Linked DNA regions of Homo sapiens: region 2 is linked to region 1. The links are contacts of gene promoters, found by promoter capture Hi-C in blood cells and fetal thymus (Javierre and others, 2016). All regions are on one chromosome and are shown on one strand. Each heading gives the region's core, a stretch centred on a gene start or on the middle of the fragment in contact. The rest is flanking DNA. Distances are from core to core; before and after follow the strand shown.

Region 1 (5,820 bases), core at 1,781-4,280:
TTGAATCGACTCTGGGATGAATGTTGTTTGAACTTTTCATTCCCTCTCTATGAAGACTCTCAGGGGAAAAATGTTGCTCTGGTTCTTGTGTTGAGAAGAGTCCTGACTTGCCTAAGCAGTCATCCCATGGATACTATGAATAGCCCAGCTGATAAGATAGGATAAGACAGATAATGTATCCTCTTTTTCTTTGGCTGCTAGAAAGCCTAGAATCAAGTTCATGAGCCACCTAGGCCGAATACTTGATTTTACCACATGCTGCAAACTCAAATACCTACAGCCGGGTCATGTTCAAACTTTGCTGTTTTTTGTTTGTTTGTTTGTTTTTTGAGACAGAGTCTCACTCTGTCACCCAGGCTGGAGTGCAGTGCAGTAGCGGGATCTCAGCTCACTGCAACCTCCGCCTCCTGGGTTTAAGCAATTCTTGTGCCTTAGCCTCCTGAGTAGCTGGGATTACAGGTGTGCACCACCATTCCTGGCTATTTTTTTGTATTTTAGTAGAGATGGGTTTTCACCATGTTGGCCAGGCTATTCTCAAACTTTGGCCTCAAGCAATCCACCCACCTCAGCTTCCCAAAGTACTGGGGTTACAGGTGTGAGCCATTACACCCAGCCCAAACTATTTAACAACAGATACAACAGAGGCACTAAGCAGAATGAAAAGCAGTTGTGAACAGGGAGCATCAGCCTGCTTCCACGGCCAGGCTGCTAGTGTAAACAGGCAAAATTGAGACTAAGAAAAAAAAAATATCTTGACTAATTTTTTTTATTACATTTGATAGAAGGGTGAGTTCAGAGAAATAGTCCATGCTGATAAGAGGACCGACACTGCTTCAGTGCCAGACAGCCAAGTGGAGTGGAGGCCAGTGGGAAATTGGAGAGCCCGTGCTCTCCCAAGAAGGCGAGACTGCTTCTCAGACCCAGATCATCGTTGCCAGATGGGATATGGCTCAGAGCTCCCAGAACTTCACTTTTTTTTTTTTTAAAAGAAAAAGTGAGAAATTTTAATTTTTAAGAATTCCTGGATTTTAAGACTGCAACTCAAGACAAACAAACAAAACCCACCAAAACCCAACAGACAAACATAAGACTGCAGGACAACTCAAACAGGAAATTCAGCGAATGCTGGCCAGCTTGTGACTTCTGCTTTCTGCTGTGTACTTTATATTTAACCTCATTCCTTCCTCTACTTTACATCTCGTTCTTTTCTGTCTGCTTTCTCTCCTACTTAATTTATAATATCTTACTCTACTTTGTGTTATCTTCATATGTCACCTTAAATCCTACCTAGGACCCAGGAGAGTATAAATAAACTGACCACAGGACATCTCCACTTAGGTAACACATCAGAGTCTCAGATTCCAAACCACAGCAAACTGATTTTGGCATTTTCCAATCCCCTGCTCCCTTCTTCCTCTACCCCAGAGGGGATCCCCTTTTTTTGCTGCTCCAGTCAACAGCAATACCCTCATTCACCCAACTGCATGGCCAGAAACCTGAGTATGATGCTATTCCTGGCCCCTCTCTCTCTCTCATGCAATCAGTTGCCAGGTTGTATCTCCTCACTCTCTGTTCCTTCCTCCTCAACCCTAGCGCCATAGTTCAGGCCCTTGTCACTTCTGGCCTGAATTACTGCATGAGATCCCAACTCACCTCCTGCACCTACTTTGCTCTTCTTCAAAATTAGCCTCCCCTGCCTGCTGGGAGGCACACCTGAGCTCCTCACTTAACCTCCTGGACAGGCCCTGCCATCCCCTGGCTAAATCTAAACTCCCCGCAGTGTGCCCACCCATCCCCTCTGCACCATCTGTGCCGCACACGTGGCACTGCCACTGTGCTGCCCATTCCTCTGCTCAGGTGCCAGTCCTCCAGGGAAGCCTCCGATGCCCCTCAGCTCCTGGGAGCACTCCGCCTCTGGGTGCCCCTGTATCACCTCATGCTTTCCTCTAGACCTGCACCGGCACTGGGTTGAAGGAAAATAATAGTAGCCAACGTTAATTAGCACATACTCTGGGCCAAGCACCCTTCTAGGCAGTTTAAATGTATTCCTTTATGTCATCCTCAAAAATCCCATGAGGAGGCTGGGGAGCGGTGGCTCATGCCTGTAATCGCAGCACTTTGGGAAGCCAAGTGGGAGGTGGAGGTTGCAGTGAGCTGAGATCACACCACTGCACTCCAGCCTGGGTGACAGAGTGAAACTCCATCTCAGAAAAAAACAAAAAACAAAAAAAACTTTATTTCTCTGTCTAACCCAAATTTTGTGTCCTCTCACCAACTTCTCCCCAGCCCCTCCATCCCTCTTCCCTCTCTTCTTCTGTAGGCTGAGAGCAGCCATTCCAGGGCTGATTGTCCAGGCATGCCCAGCACTGGCCAGTGTGAAGAGGAGGAGCATAGACCACTGCTGTGACTTCCTGGGAGTGGGCTTACACTGGCATCTGTGCAGGCTTCAGGAAAAAGAAGCGAAATCACGGCGTGGATCTAAGGGGCCAAGCCTCACCTTGAAGGTTCTTCTGGGTCTTTGGCCTGGACAAGAACATGAAACTTGAATTTCTCAAGGTGAGGTGAAGGCCAAGCAGGAAGCCAGGATGGTCACCAGGAAAGGAGCCAGAATGAACTAAGTGTTCTTTAGGGCAAGGAACTTACCAGAACCTCTACGCTCCGAGCTATGATCAGGCTGCTCTCTCCCTCTCTCTCTCTCTCTCTCTCTCCCCCACCCCCCCGACCCCTTTGTGGCCAAGGTAAGGCCACATTTTAGAGTGGAAGCCCCAAGGCAACCCCCCACCTCACAACCTCCACTCTTGTTGCCCTCTCTAATCCAACGCCTGCCAGGCTCACACTTCAACCACTAGACTGAAAAGCAAGAATCTTCCACAAAAATAATCTTTTACCTTAGACCTGCTTCCTGTGCAGATGAGATAAGGAGAATGCTCTTGTCTGAATTTCTGGGCGTGGAGATTAGCAAGCCGTTTTCCTCCCAGCAGCTAGAGCGAGCAAGAGGCCCTGCTGTGAGTAGTGCTGTTCTGAGTCTGCGTGGTCCAGACTCACCACACTGCAGGCACGTTTCTTCATCAGGTGGGAAAGCAGGAAGAGGTTTAATTTAGGACCTAAAGCTGGTATATTGCTGAGTAAAAGAAATGGGAAGGCACCAAGTCTCTAACGAAATTGCGCTGGGTGCAGTGGCTCATGCCTCTAATCCCAGCACTTTGAGAGGCTGAGGTGGGTGGATCACTTGCGGTCAGGAGTTTGAGACCAGCCTGGTCAACGTGGCGAAACCCCATCTCTACTAAAAATATAAAAATTAGCCAGGCATGGTGGCGGGCGCCTGTAATTCCAGCTACTCGTGAGGCTGAAGCAGGAGAACGCTTGAACCTGAGAGGCAGAGGTTGTAGTGAGCTGAGCTCGCCGCTGCCCTCCAGACTAGGTGACAGAGCCAGATTCCGTCTCAAAAAAACAAAAAAAAAAGAAAAAGAAACTGCTTGTGATCCAACACTCCCCCACTGGTGCCTCCTCATGGTGAAGAGCAATTACTCTGGCACCAGAGTCTTGGGGTTCAAATCCTTACTTCACCAGTATGTGACTGGAAAAGCTACCTAACCTGCCTGCTGAAGCTTCATGGCTAATAATTCCTCACAGCATTTCTTTTTTTCTTTTTTTTTTTTGAGACAGAGTCTTGCTCTGTCACCCAGGCTGGAGTGCAGTGGCATCATCTCAGCTCACTGCAACCTCCACCTCCCTGGTTCAAGCTTCTGCCTCAGCCTCCCAAGTAGCTGAGATTACAAGCGCCCACCACTAAGCCTGGCTAATTTTTGTATTTTCAGTAGAGATGGGGTTTCACCATGTTGGTGAGGCTGGTCTTGAATTCCTGACCTCAAGTGATCCGCCCACCTTGGCCTCCCAATGTGCTGGGATTATAGGCGTGAGACACTGCGCCTGGCCCAGGAGGAATAAGTTTAAGAGCTCCCATTGTACAGCATGCTATCTATAGTTAATAACAATATATCGTGTATCGAAAATTGCTAAGACAGTAGATGTTAAGTGTCTTTATCACCCCCAAAAAATGACAAGTATATGGGGCAATTAAGTCAAATAGCTTGACTTAATAATTCCACAATGTATACATAAATTAAAACATCAAGCTGTATTTGTATACCATAATATATACAATTTTTACTTGTCAATTAAATAAATAAATACACAGAAAAGGGCAGAGACAGGTCAAGAAGCACAGCACTCAGTACAGAAATACAGATAACAATATATTGAAAGAAAGAATTCAAAGATAAATTTTTTTTTTTTTTTTTTGGAGACAGAGTCTTGCTCCATTGCCTAGGGTAGAGTACAGAGACACAATCACAGCTCTCTGCAACCTCAACCTCCCAGGCTCAAGTGATCCTCCCACTTCAGCCTCCCAAATAGCTAGGACTGCAGGGTATGCCACCACAACCTGGCTAATACTTGTATTTTTTTGTAGAGATGGGGTTTCACCATGTTGCTTGCCCAGTCTAGTCTTGAACTCCTGGGCTCAAGTGATCCTCCCAGCCTGGCTTCCCAGAGTGCTGGGATTACAGGCACCAGCCACCGCACCCGGCCAAAGATATGTTCTGAAGATTGAAACGTCTCTCTTTCCAAAATAACTACTCTTGGCCAGGTATGGTGGTGTGCGCCTGTAATCCCAGCTACTCGGGAGGCTGAGGCAGGAGAATTGTTTGAATCCGGGAGGCAGAGGTTGCAGTGAGCCAAGATTGTTCCACTGCACTCCAGCCTGGGCAAGAGTGAGACTCCGTCTCAAAAAACAAACAAAACCCAAAAACCTCTTGACTGGGTGCTGTGCCTCAAGCCTGTAATCCCAGCACTTTGGGAGGCAGAGGTGGGAGGATCACTTGAGCCCAAGAGTTCAACACAGCCTGGGCAACATAGGGAGACACCATCTCTACAAATTTTTTTTTAAAAATTAGCTGGGCATGGTGGTGCACACCTGTGGTTCCAGCTACTCAGGAGGCTGGGGTTGAGAGTATCACTTCAGCCCAGGAGTTTGAGGCTGCAGTGAGCTGTGATTGCAACCACTACTCTCCAGCCTAGGTGACAGAGCCAGACCCTGTCTCTATAAAAGCATTAATTAATTAATTAATTAATTACTAGTCTTTCCCACCTGAAAGTGAAAACTAAGAAGGTCCAAACTGTAGGATTATAGAATGACGGATGTCTGGGGAGATCAGAACAAATCTGCGGAAGAAAACACATGTAATCTGTCTGCATTGCCAGTTTTGGGTGGTGATTCCTGTCCAAGTGTAGCTCCCAAGCACAAGACTGTGGTCTAGGGTCCTGTTCTTCCCTATCTTTAGGAGAACATTAAGATCACCATGAGGCAGGCACCACATAAGAGGGCACAGTGATAAGAATTTTAGCATTCCTCGTTGTTCCTGCTAAGTGCTTGTGAACAGTTGTATAACCAGAGTTCTCGATCGGCAGAGCCTTTTCATTTCCTCTAATATGCTTTCACACTTTCCAGTTCTGGATGCAATCAGCAAAATCCAGACTATGGGGAAAATCTACAAACAACCTGGTTTCTTCAACAAGTAAGTAGCAAGTGGTGAGGGTGGAGATAAATTAAGAGATTTAAAAGTCATCAACCAATTGCAATGTCTGAGCTTTATTTAGATTCTGATTTTTTAAAAAAAGAAACCACTTATGATAATTGAGATGAGTAGAAATTTGAACACTGACAGGATATCTGATATTAAGAAATTTTTTGAGGTATGATTTTTAAATTTCTTGTCTTAGACACTGAAACATTTACGAGTGAAATAATATGATTCCTGA
Region 2 (5,820 bases), core at 1,456-3,955, 1.1 Mb after region 1:
CAAGTCCTGCATAGTTGGGCCTCCATCTCTATCTGCAGCCTCATCCTGTGCCACTTTCTCTTCACTCACTTAGCCCTTTCTTACCTTAAGACCATGGCATGCCGTCCCCAACAGAACATCTTGAGTGATAAGAACATGGACTCTGTTCTTACCAGCTACATGAACCTGGGAAAGCTGCATAACCTCTCTGTGCTTCAGTTTCTCTATCTGAAAAATGAGGATAAGAATAGCACCTACGTTAATTTAATTCTCAGTGAGCGAATTCCTACCCTCATTTTTCAGATACAGAAACCGAAGTACAGAGAGGTTATGCAGCTTGCCCAGGTTCACACAGCTGTTATGTATTCATATGTGTGGTGGATTTGTTGGTTTGATATCGGTTTTTCCCATTAGACTCTTAGTTCCATGAGGGCAAACTGTGTTTTGCTCACCACTCTATCCCCAGCACCAACAAAAATTTGCTTTGCCTGTGACAGATGTTAAATATTTGTGTTGAATGAATAAATAATTATGAAGGGTTCAAGCTGGCAACCAAGTTATTATGGGTTTGTGGGGGCTTTAAATTCTCTCTCTCTCTCTTTCCCTCCCTCTCTAGGAACCTTGGGAAAAGATATCAGTTCTAAATTCATAACATCCAGACAAGGTTCTGTCTCTTTCTCTCTATAGTTTTACAGGAGAATGGGATTGTTTACTAAATGGTTTGCGATAAAAATCTCTCCTCCCCAAAAAGGAAGACAGAAAAGAGAAACTTGGAGCCTAGTGGCAGGAGGGCACCAGAAGAGTGATTCAGTATCAATTATAGTGTATGGGGTCACCAAAAGGCAATTCAATTAAAAAACAAATACTAGAACCAAGTATGAATTTGCAGCTATTAATAGGAACTTGTCCTCTATAATAAGCATGAAAAAAAAGGGGGAGAACAAACATAATTTATGCCAAAGAAACTTCTGGTGCTCTTCTTACTTGTTTGTGTAAGTAGAAGTCTGGTTCTGCCAACATAAAAGTAAGTGAGACCCAGGTTATGTCATTTCTATCTACAGAAAAAGAAACCTTATACTGGAGGTAACAGAAGGGAGCCTGAAAACTCACCCAGATCTCAGTATCTGTTCTTCAGATTGCAGAACCCCAGTCTGGGCTACTTAGGTACCTTTGCCATCTGGGTCCTCATACCTCTAGCCTATCTGTTGCCAATGTAAGTTGAAAGACTATATGTTTGTGTGTTCGGTGTTTTAGATATATTAATTCCTTTAATCTCCTACCACCTTAGTATGTGAGTAGTATTATCCAAGGTGACAGCGAGTAGATGGTAAAGCTAGATTATAATTATGATCTGATTCTAAGGCCAATACTTCACCAGAAGGCTCTATCTTGAAGTCTGACACGTTTGAGATTAGTTAAAACTAGACTACCAATTTTGGTTTTTTCTTTGTTTTTTGAGACAGAGTCTCACTATCACCCAGGCAGGAGTGCAGTGGCGATATCTTGGCTCACTGCAACCTCTGCCTCCTGGGTTTAAGGGATTCTCCTGCCTCAGCCTTCGGAGTAGCTGGGACTACAGGCGTAAGCCACCACACCCGGCTAATTTTTGTATTTTTAGTAGAGATGGGGTTTCACCATGTTGGCCAGCCTGGTCTCGAACTCCTGACCGCAGGTGATCCGCCTGCCTCGTCCTCCCAAAGTGTTGGGATTACAGGCGTGAGCCAACGCGCCCAGCCTAGACTAGCAATTTCTCAAAGGGTGGTCTGCAGACTCCTGCATCAGAATCACTGGCAGTGTGTGTTAAAAATTCAGATTTCCTGACGGTGTCCATGACCGAAGGAATCAACACCTTCGGCCGGGCGTGGTGGCTCACGCCTGTAATCCCAGCACTTTGGGAGGCCGAGGTGGGCGGAACACCTGAGGTCAGGAGTTCGAGACCAGCCTGGCCAACATGGTGAAACTCCATCTCTACTAAAAATACAAAAATTAGCCAGGCGTGGTGGCGGTCGTCTGTAATCCCAGCTACTCGGGAGGCTGAGGCAGGAGAATCCCTTGAACCTGGGAGGCGGAGGTTGCAGTGAGCCGAGATAGTGCCACTGCACACCAGCCTGGACGGCAGAGCAAGACTCCATCTCAAAAAAAAAAAAAGCACCTCCAAGTGATTCTGTTGCAGGGGATCTGTGGATGATGCAGATTTTTTTTTTGTTTTTAATTTTTTATAGAGAAAGGGTCTCCCTATGTTCCCCAGACTAGTCTCGAACTCCCGGGCTCAAGCGATCCTCCCACTTCGGCCTCCCAAAGTGCCGGGATTACTGGCATGAACCACCACACCTGGCCCAGAATTTCGGATTGTTCTTATGCAGACGAAAGCATTAGGACTCATATCTAGGTTACCGGAATTGTTGAAAGCCAACAGCACACGGCATTAGCCAACTTCAGCCCTGCTCAACAGCCTCTATCCAAATCAGCTCCCGGAGCCGCTTAGCAGCCTGCAGCCGCTGAACAGAACTGAGCACGCGCAATATTTAATCCCCACGGGCGCTGGGTGGGGCTCCCTAGGACCCCGCCCCCTACCAACCTGCGGAGCCAGGGGGCGGGGCTCTCCAAAGTAATTCCGGCTTCTCCCGGCAGCGGCCCAAATCCCCGCCCCCAGCTCTCGGACCAATCAAACGGCAGATTGCTGAAACAAAGGACCAATGCCCAGGGCGGTCCTTAATTCCTCCCTGCAGTTTGAAACTGTCAGGTTGCCGTCTAGGTAGCGGTTGTGCTTGCTGAGGCTGCACTTGCTGACACTGCAGCTGCGACGCGGCTAAGAGGCGCAGAGCGAGGAGTCGGGATTTGGTCGCGAGCGGCGACGGTGGGTAGCAGCGCTCCGGGCAGATCCTGCGTCCCTGCATCCCTGGCGAAAGTAGTGGAGGGAGATTTAAAGTTCCTTGGCGCGTGTTTCCTCCCCCTGGGCTCTTCCCCAGACCGCGAGTGATTCAGCTGTTGTGCCGGAAGGTCCCAAAGTTTCCCCTCCGAGGCGTGCAGGAAGAGGAAGTGAGCAGGAGTGAGGGATGCTGAGCGATTACTGTCATCAGAGGTTCCGGTCACTTAAAACGTTGAGAAAAAATAACCATGTATAAAGCTCTGTTGTGCTTAAGTAAGATTTTTCTTAAAACAGGCTGGGTCGGAAGGTGATGGAAGAAAACTTATGGCCTTTTGCTTACTGCAATGGCTTTTCTCCTCTGCTTCTAGTCCCTGCTTTGGGGAGGGGCTGGCGCGCCCCTTTCCTTGAGTGCAGCTAGGCCTGGTGAAAGGCACAGGCGACATCACCCTGCTGCTAGTTTGCATGTTAATTCGCTCTTCCTTTGCCTCTTGGGGGTTCCATTTGAATTCCCAGACCCCTGTTTTGCTGTCAGCCAGATAATTACCAAGATGTTATTTTATGTTTCTGGCAACAGAGAAGCACACAAAAGTTTTGATCTTGTTTTCTGATACCTTGGATTAGAGACTACTGAAAATGTAGTGAACTAATGTGCGTCCGCCACCCATTAAAGCAGTTTTCATTTTTCTCCTTTGTTTCTGAACCTAGAAACAGTAAGGAAAATGCTACTGTTCTAGAGTTTCAAATAACTCATACCTTGTTGACATAAAGCAGGGCAGATGGAAGATAGCATATTTTCCAAGAGTGCGGTGGGTTTTTTTGTGTCTGCAGTGTGTCCATATTAAGAAACAATTTTTGAGATCTGACCATACTTACTAGCTCATTTTTAAATAATCAGCACCCCCCCCCCCCCACCCCTGTTACCTGCCTGGTCTCAAATCCTGAAGGAAGAAGTGAATAAAAATATAAATGGACCAAGTTATCACAGTGGTAGATTTGAAGTCAGTGAAGCAGCCATTCCTTGCTGCAGATACATGCACTTATTTTATCCTCCCTAATTGGCTTAACTAAAGACAGTCATGCTGAGATTTAGTTTACTTAACATGTGTATGCACAGTGATACTCACTGGAAAAAGTTGAACTTTCCTTTCCACAATTTAGTTCCAGCCTGTGTTTCCATTCTATTTTTGCACTTTTCCCTGTATCTTCCTTTTCTATTTCAATTTCCTCATCTCTCATTTATTTTTCAGCCCACTGTGACTAAGACCTGTAATTGTTTTACTTTCCAGTGAAATTGTTCAAGCAAACGTCTCAGCAACCTCCTAATCTCCAAATTCTATCCAATCCTCATGGTTCTTTGGCATCTAATTCTATTTTCTTCTCAAAGTTGTGATATTGCTTCCATAGTTCTAATGTTCTGACTTCCTTTGCTGACTCCTCTTCTTTGCTGACTGTTCTTCTCTTGCCCTTTAGATGTTAGTGGTTCTGGCTTTAACCCTCTTCTCATTCACAGTCGTAGTCCTTAACTCTATTAGGGCTATGGTCCCCTCTGAACGCATATTTAAAGCGAAAGATCTTCTTTCTAGAAAAATACACATTCACATTTATGATAAAAATATTGCATACGAGTCGGGTATAGGGACCTGATATGGTTAGGTCTTGTGTCCCCACTCAAATCCCATCTTCAATTGTAATCTCCACATGTAGGGGAAGGGAAGTGATTGGATTATAAGGGCGATTTCCCCCGTGCTGTTCTCATGATAGTGAATTCTCACGAGATCTGATGGTTTTATAAATGGTAGTTTTTCCTGCACTCTCTCACATACTGTCTCACCTGCCGCCATCTAAGATGTGCCTGCTTCCCCTTCTACCATGATTTTAAGTTTCCTGAGGCCTCCCCAGACATGCGGAACTGTGAGTCAATAAAAATTCTTTTATTTATAAATTACCCAGTTTTGGGCAGTTCTTTTTTTTTTTTTTTTTTTTTGAGACGGAGTCTCACTCTGTCGCCCAGGCTGGAGTGCAGCGGCGCGATCTTGGCTCACTATGAGCTCCGCCTCCCGGGTTCACGCCATTCTCCTGCCTCAGCCTCCCAAGTAGCTGGGACTACAGGCGCCCACCACCACGCCAGGCTAATTTTTTGTATTTAGTGGAGACGGGGTTTCACCGTGTTAGCTAGTATGGTCTTGATCTCCTGACCTCGTAATCCTCCCACCTCAGCCTCCCAAAGTGCTGGGATTGCAGGCATGAGCCACCGTGCCCGGCCTGGGCAGTTCTTTATAGCAGTTTGAAAAACGTACTAATACAGGACCTCAGGATAAGAACTTTTTCTCACATTCCTTTTTTATAGGTGGTCTCATCCATTCCCTTTTTTCAGCAGTTCCCATTATGCCAGTGATTCCTCAAACTGGATCTCCAACTTATACCTCCAGTGCGGCGCTCCCACAATGCTTAACTCCAGGAAACACCATTCACAGTGTAGCCATTGTGAATGGCAGTTCTTGGAGTAGCGCACTACGTAGCCAGTGTGACCACAGACTGCATACTTGCAGCTTTACCCTAGTGCCTCAGAGGCATCCTCACACCCAGCTCATCTGATATGGCACTCATTGTCCTTCCTCCCAACCTGCTCATCTTCCTACCTTCCTTGCCTTGGTGAGTGGCACTATCCATCTAGTTACCCAAACCGGAGATCTGGAAGCCACCAACAGTTCTTTTTAACCCCTTGATCTATTATTGATCATTTTCTCTTTCCATCACCATAACACAACTGTCTTGTAGTCATACCCTCCATCCCCTTCCCATTGCTACTTCCTAGACTTAGGTCATCATTTATCTTCTTAATTACTATCAAAGAGAACATTTATCTCTTAGACTACTGCAGTCAGCTCTCAATTGATCTCTCTCTCTTTTTTTTTTGAGACGGAGTCTCTGTCACCCAGGCTGGAGTGCAGTGGTGCGATCTTGGCTCACTG

What was found. Contacts are between HindIII fragments. The CHiCAGO score rates a contact against its expected background, and 5 or more counts as called.
Region 2: the fragment with the promoter of POC5 here is called in contact with the fragment with the promoter of S100Z in region 1 in 4 of 17 cell types (total CD4 T cells, neutrophils, activated CD4 T cells and 1 more); the score reaches 7.2 in total CD4 T cells.

What each region holds. Positions count from the first base shown.
Region 1 is chr5:76,847,224-76,853,043 of GRCh38, reverse strand. S100Z (S100 calcium binding protein Z) reads right to left here and starts at 3,030. Exons shown (of 5, transcript NM_130772.4): 1 at 2,889-3,030. The HindIII fragment of the contact is 3,987 bases long and covers 1-3,610 here.
Region 2 is chr5:75,714,322-75,720,141 of GRCh38, reverse strand. POC5 (POC5 centriolar protein) reads left to right here and starts at 2,705. Exons shown (of 12, transcript NM_001099271.2): 1 at 2,705-2,836. LOC441087 (a long non-coding RNA gene) reads right to left here and starts at 2,710. Exons shown (of 3, transcript NR_149046.1): 1 at 2,558-2,710; 2 at 85-207. RefSeq lists an enhancer at 3,000-3,309. The HindIII fragment of the contact is 9,196 bases long and covers 1-5,820 here.